Linked DNA regions of Homo sapiens: region 1 is linked to region 2. The links are contacts of gene promoters, found by promoter capture Hi-C in blood cells and fetal thymus (Javierre and others, 2016). All regions are on one chromosome and are shown on one strand. The core of a region is centred on a gene start or on the middle of the fragment in contact, and the rest is flanking DNA. Distances in the headings are between cores, read along the strand shown.

Evidence for each region. Contacts are between HindIII fragments. The CHiCAGO score rates a contact against its expected background, and 5 or more counts as called.
Region 1: the fragment with the promoter of SPNS2 here is called in contact with the fragment with the promoter of SLC52A1 in region 2 in 2 of 17 cell types (neutrophils and erythroblasts); the score reaches 9.6 in neutrophils.

Annotation. Positions count from the first base shown.
Region 1 is chr17:4,497,631-4,500,446 of GRCh38, reverse strand. SPNS2 (SPNS lysolipid transporter 2, sphingosine-1-phosphate) reads right to left here and starts at 1,566. Exons shown (of 13, transcript NM_001124758.3): 1 at 1,030-1,566. The coding sequence starts at 1,399. It overlaps SPNS2-AS1 (SPNS2 antisense RNA 1), which reads left to right and starts at 1,712. Exons shown (of 3, transcript XR_001752763.2): 1 at 1,712-2,296; 2 at 2,732-2,816. RefSeq lists enhancers at 132-766, 767-1,402 and silencers at 1,444-1,493, 1,554-1,703, 1,714-1,773. The HindIII fragment of the contact is 9,610 bases long and covers 1-2,284 here.
Region 2 is chr17:5,034,087-5,036,786 of GRCh38, reverse strand. SLC52A1 (solute carrier family 52 member 1) reads left to right here and starts at 1,361. Exons shown (of 5, transcript NM_017986.4): 1 at 1,361-1,926; 2 at 2,074-2,310; 3 at 2,429-2,700. The coding sequence starts at 2,181. All of the region lies in intron 3 of LOC105371501 (a long non-coding RNA gene), which reads right to left. The HindIII fragment of the contact is 18,376 bases long and covers 1-2,700 here.

The DNA.
Region 1 (2,816 bases), core at 317-2,816, 540 kb after region 2:
CCACCATTCCCAACCAGTAGCAGCTCAGTCTAGGGCAAATTCTTACCCCTAGACCCACCCCTAATTGCTGGGGAAGGGAGCCAGCAGAAGGCAATTCCAGAACCACGTGCGTCCCCCAAAGGCCCAATGATCAATCAACTCACAAACGGGCAAACAGACCTAAACACACGCTGAGACTGGCCCAAGGTCACACACCAAGCACATTAGGAGCAAAGCTGGGGCTAGAACCCAGTTGTTCTATCGATCCCAATCCCGTCCCCAAGGCTGATTCCCAGAGATGCTCCCTGAGGATGAGGCTCCACGTCTCTAGCTCCAGAGGCCTGCGCCCTACCCTACACCCCAAGCACCATAGAGCAGGGGGAGGCGTCTCCAGGCCTCTGTACAGGGCCAGCTGCAAACCGCAGCCTGGGTCCCCAGGCGCCGCGGACCCGCCCCGCCCCTCCCTCCGCTCCCCGCAGCCCGGAGCCTTTGTCAGCCACGCGCTCACACACAACCGCGCCGCCACGCGCACACACACCCGGTCTCCCTAGCGCACACCCGCAAGGGGCGCGCGCACTCGCCGCACGCACGCAGGGGGGTGGAGGCGGCGGAGAAAGGAAGGAACTGACGGGCCATGGACGGACAGACGACCTGGGCTGGGGGAAGGGAAGGGAAGGAGGCCCGGGAACCGGCAGCTGGGGTCGGAGGGGGCGCAGAGACAAGGAGACAGAGAGACGCAGAGGAGACTCTTGGAGAGGAGGACAACGGATGGGCCGTCAAGGGCTGGAGAGGACGCGCGGGCTGCTCCAGGGGTGGGGACTCCTCTATCCCTTGGCCCCGGGTGTGTATGAGCGGGGAGCTGGATTGTACCCGTGGTGCACGGAGGCATCCCTTGCCCAGTTGTGCCTGAGCAGAGGGTCCGTAGGGACCTCACGTAGGGCCTGGAGATAGCAGGCCTGAGACCAAAAGCTCTCTGGGGTACCTCCCTCGAGGCGGGTGGTGGGATGGGGTGGGGTCTTGGTCCTCGGGCTGGGTGGGGCACTCGCTCACCTGCCACGGTGTACCTGTCCAGGTAGTTGAGCACGTTGCCCAAGCTGAGGATGGCGGCGGCTGCCCCCCGCCCGCGGCCCAAGCTGGCCGGTTTGGGCTGCTGAGCGCCGGGGCCCTTTGCAGTAGCTGCGCAGCCGGGGGTGCCGGGGGTGCCGGGGGGTCCGGTCGGGGCCCGCCTTACGCTGCCCGACAGCGTCTGCACCTCATCGCCCGCGGCCGAGACTCCAGCGCCGCCCGCGCCCCGCGCCCCGCAGCAACCGCTACCGCCAGCCCCTCGCTGCGCCCCCCGGCGCCGGCGCCGCCGCTCCGCGTCCGCCTCCTCCTCCTCCGCGCCGCCCGCCGCCGCCGAGGCGCATTCCAGGCACATCATGCCGGCCCGGATCGGGGCGGCGGGGGGCGCGGGGGGCGCGGGGCCCAGGCTGGGCCCGCTCAGCGCGTGCGTGCGCCGCGGAGCCGCCACTGCACCATCCTGGTCGGGCCCCGTCGGCTCCTGCGCTCCGGCCCCGGCTGCGGCGCTGCCACCGCTCAGCTCGCTGCGCCTCGTTCGCCGCCGCGGCTCTGACAGCTGCGGCCCGGCCCCGCCCACCAGGCCCGCGCCCAATCAGCTCCGGGCTCGGGCCACAGCCCCGCCCCGCACGTGCTGCCCTGGGGGTGGGGGGCCCGGGGACTGGGGGCCCGGGCGGCAGAGCCCCTCCTGCCAATGGGGGCGCAGTCACGCCGGGGCCGACCGGCCGCGAACGCCCGCGGGGAGCGGGAGAGGGTTTGCTCTGGCTACGGAGCTGGGAGCAGGGTGCTGGTGACGGGGCTCCCAGCACCTACTCAGTACCCTTCACCCAACCCCTGCCTCGGGCGTGGACTCCCGGCGGAGGCTCTGGGAGCCGGGCTGAGGGCTTGAGCCTAGCGTATCTGGGAGAACTGGAGAGAGGAGTCTCAGATGGCTAAAGTCAGGGGCGCCAGTTGGAGAGCCGGTGGCTCCTCCGATACTCACACGCCCGGATTTAACCAGTTCAGGGAGGGCCCAGAACCTAGACCTCCACCAGTCATGGTGGGCTGTGTCTCCCACCTCCCCAGGGCAACCCAGATCCAGCCCCCAACCTACCCCGGGCCCATTCCTGTGTGGGCACCCGGACCCTACCCTTGCCCCACAGAGTGGCCCGCAGCCCCTGGCGGGGAGAGCAAGGGCTGTGATTGGGGCCCAACAGAAACAGGATATTCAGAAGGGGCTTTCCCTCCTGAGGGACCACATCTCCAAGCTTCAGACTTCCAGGTATGTGCTAGAGAGGGTACAAAGCCCCCAGTGGCAGACAGGAGGCTGGGTCCTAGCTCAGCTCTGCCCTGGTGTGTGGCATGATCCTGAACATGACACCCACTCTCTGGGCCTCCATTTCTGTATCTGGGGGCAGATGGCAGGATGGGATTCAGTCTGGAAATCCACGGGTGGTCACCTCCCCTTGGTGGGACGGGGCGGGGGTCTGCCTCCTATGGAGAGTGGTTGGGGTGCTTCTGTGTTCCTGACATCCCATCACGGTTTCACCCCTCCTTAGAGGTGCTGTGGCTCTGTGACGATCTCCCCCTTCCCTCCCCCATTCACCTGTTTGGGGAATTAAAATCGAAATTAAAATCCTGTATAAAGTGCAGAGGACAGAATGTTAGAACTGGACAAACCCTCGGAAACCAGTTAATCATTCCCTGTGTTTCACAGACAAGTCCCAGGGCACGGACGTGACCCATTACGAACAGGCAGTGAAGCTGTGGCAGGGCTGGAGCTGCCCCAGGCTCTGGCATCA
Region 2 (2,700 bases), core at 112-2,611:
ATACAAAAATGGGTAGTAGGTCAGGGTAATCCCTGAGATGGTCAGTGAGTAAACAAGTACAAAATATCATTAAAGGGCCAGACATGGTGGCTCACGCCTGTAATCCCAGCACTTTGGGAGGCTGAGGCGGGCGGATCACCTGAGGTCAGGAGTTCGAGACGAGCCTGGCCAATATGGTGAAACCCCATCTCTACGAAAAATACAAAAATTATCCAGGCGTGGTGGCAGGCGTCTGTAATCCCAGCTACTCGGGAGTCTGAGGCAGGAGAATGGCGTGAACCTGGAAGGTGGAGCTTGCAGTGAGCCGAGATCGCGCCACTGCACTCCAGCCTGGGCGACAGAGCGAGACTCCGTCTCAAAAAAAAAAAAAAAAAAAAAAAAAAGCAAAAATTAGCCAGGTGTGCACACCACGTCCAGCTAATTTTTTTTCAACCATTTAAAAGTGTAAAAACAGCTGGCCAGGCACGGTGGCTCACGCCTGTAATCCCCAACACTTTGGGAGGCCGGGGCAGGTGGATCACCTGAGGTCAGGAGTTCAAGACCAGCCTAGCTAACATGGCGAGACCCTGTGCACTAAAAAGACAAAAATTAGCAGGGCATGGTGGTGGGCGCCTGTAATTCCAGCTACTCGGGAGGCTGAGGCAGGAGAATGGCTTGAACCCGGGAGGCAGAGGCTCGTGCCATTGCACTCCAGCCTGGGCAACAAGAGCAAAACTCCGTCTCAAAAAAAAAAAAAAAAAAAAAAAGTGTAAAAACAGCTGAGCGTGGCGGTAGCTAGGTGTGGTGCGTCTGTAGTCCCAGCTACTTGGGAGGCTGAGGTAGGAAGATTGCTTGAGCCCAGGAGTGCCAAGCCAGCCTGAGCAACATAGTGAGACCTTGTCTCTACCAAAAAAAAAAAAAAAAAAAAAAAAAATTAGCTGGACATGGTGATGCTCGCCTGTGGTCCCAGCTACTTGTGGGGGGGTGGGGAGAGGCTGAGTGGGAGGATCCCTTGAGCTTGGGAGGTTGAGGCTGTAGTGAGCCGCGATCGCGCACCGCTGCGCTCTAGCCTGGGTGACAGAGTGAGACCCCGTCTCAAAATTAATTAATTAATTAAAACAACAAACAACAAAACCCCAGCTGTGTGGGCTCTGGGCTGGGCCGCCTCCCCGGCGGAGGGGGCTCCCTCTCAGGCAGACCGCCAGCCGCTGGGTCCGGGGACTGCCGGATCCGGAGGTGCGGGGACCCCTGCGCACCTGGCGGCTCCCGGGATGCCCCCCTGAGGCAGGCGGGAGGGCAGCACGGAGACGCCCCTCCGGGCAGAGCCCGCCCCAGCCACTCCCCTCTCCAACTCGACCTGCCTCAGCAAGTCCTGAGTGTCGCAAAAGCGCTAGGGTTGCAAGTGGCACCAGAGACGTGCCCTTGTCCCGGGGTCCATTTGAGGGTGAGCGTGTTGGTGCCGAGCTGTTTTTTTGTTTTGTTTTGTTTTGTTTTGTTTTTGAGACCGAATCTCGTTCTGTCGCCCAGGCTGGAATGCAGTGGTGTGATCTTGGCTCACTGCAACCTCCACCTTCCGGGTTCAAGTGAATCTCCTGCCTCAGCCTCCTGAGTAGCTGGGATTACTGGCACCCACCACCACGACCAGCTAATTTTTGTATTTTTAGTAGAGACGGGTTTTCACCATGTTGGCCAGGATGGTCTCAATCTCCTGACCTCAGGCGATCTGCCTTCCTCAGCTTCCCAAAGTGCTGGGATTACAGGTGTGAGCCACCGCACCCGGCCAGTGCTGAGCTGTTTTGACAACTTGGACCCCGGGTCCTCTGTGGGTAGGAAAATCAGCTCCCTCTTTGCTCCTCTGGGGCAGCTGCACCTCGGGCCAGCTTTCTGCCTGTCTGCCTGCCGGCACTGCTGGGTCGCTGTACCCAAACGCACAGCCGGTGCCCCGTGGTAAGTCCTGGCTCCCCACCTTCCCCGCCCGCCCCCGGCCACCTCTCCCTCCAGTTGCCCTGGTCTTAGCAGTCTGACCGACTTGTCTTCTGACTCCGGTTCTGTCCCACCAGCCTATTACCTGCCAGCCTGTCTGTTTCCCTCCAGCTAGAAGGTCTTCAGTTTCCAGAAGAACCAAAGCATCTTTGGACCTACCTAGGGAAGGACCTGCCTGTGACCTTTGCCCTGTCCTGGAGGGTCCAGCTTTGGGCTGAATGGCAGCACCCACGCTGGGCCGTCTGGTGCTGACCCACCTGCTGGTGGCCCTTTTTGGCATGGGCTCCTGGGCTGCTGTGAACGGGATCTGGGTGGAGCTGCCTGTGGTGGTAAAAGACCTTCCAGAGGGTGAGTGGGAGGGAGGTACAGGGAAGCGTGGGGCAGGTATGCCCAGAAAGGTGGCCTGTGGCAGCTCTTTGTCCCTTAGCCACTGTGCTCCTGACATGGCATCATTCCTTCCCTGCAGGTTGGAGCCTCCCCTCATACCTCTCTGTGGTTGTGGCGCTGGGAAACCTGGGTCTGCTGGTGGTGACCCTGTGGAGGCAGCTGGCCCCGGGCAAGGGCGAGCAGGTCCCCATCCAGGTGGTACAGGTGCTGAGTGTAGTGGGCACAGCCCTGCTGGCCCCTCTGTGGCACCACGTGGCCCCAGTGGCAGGGCAGCTCCACTCTGTGGCCTTCCTAACTCTGGCCTTGGTGTTGGCAATGGCCTGTTGTACCTCTAATGTCACTTTCCTGCCC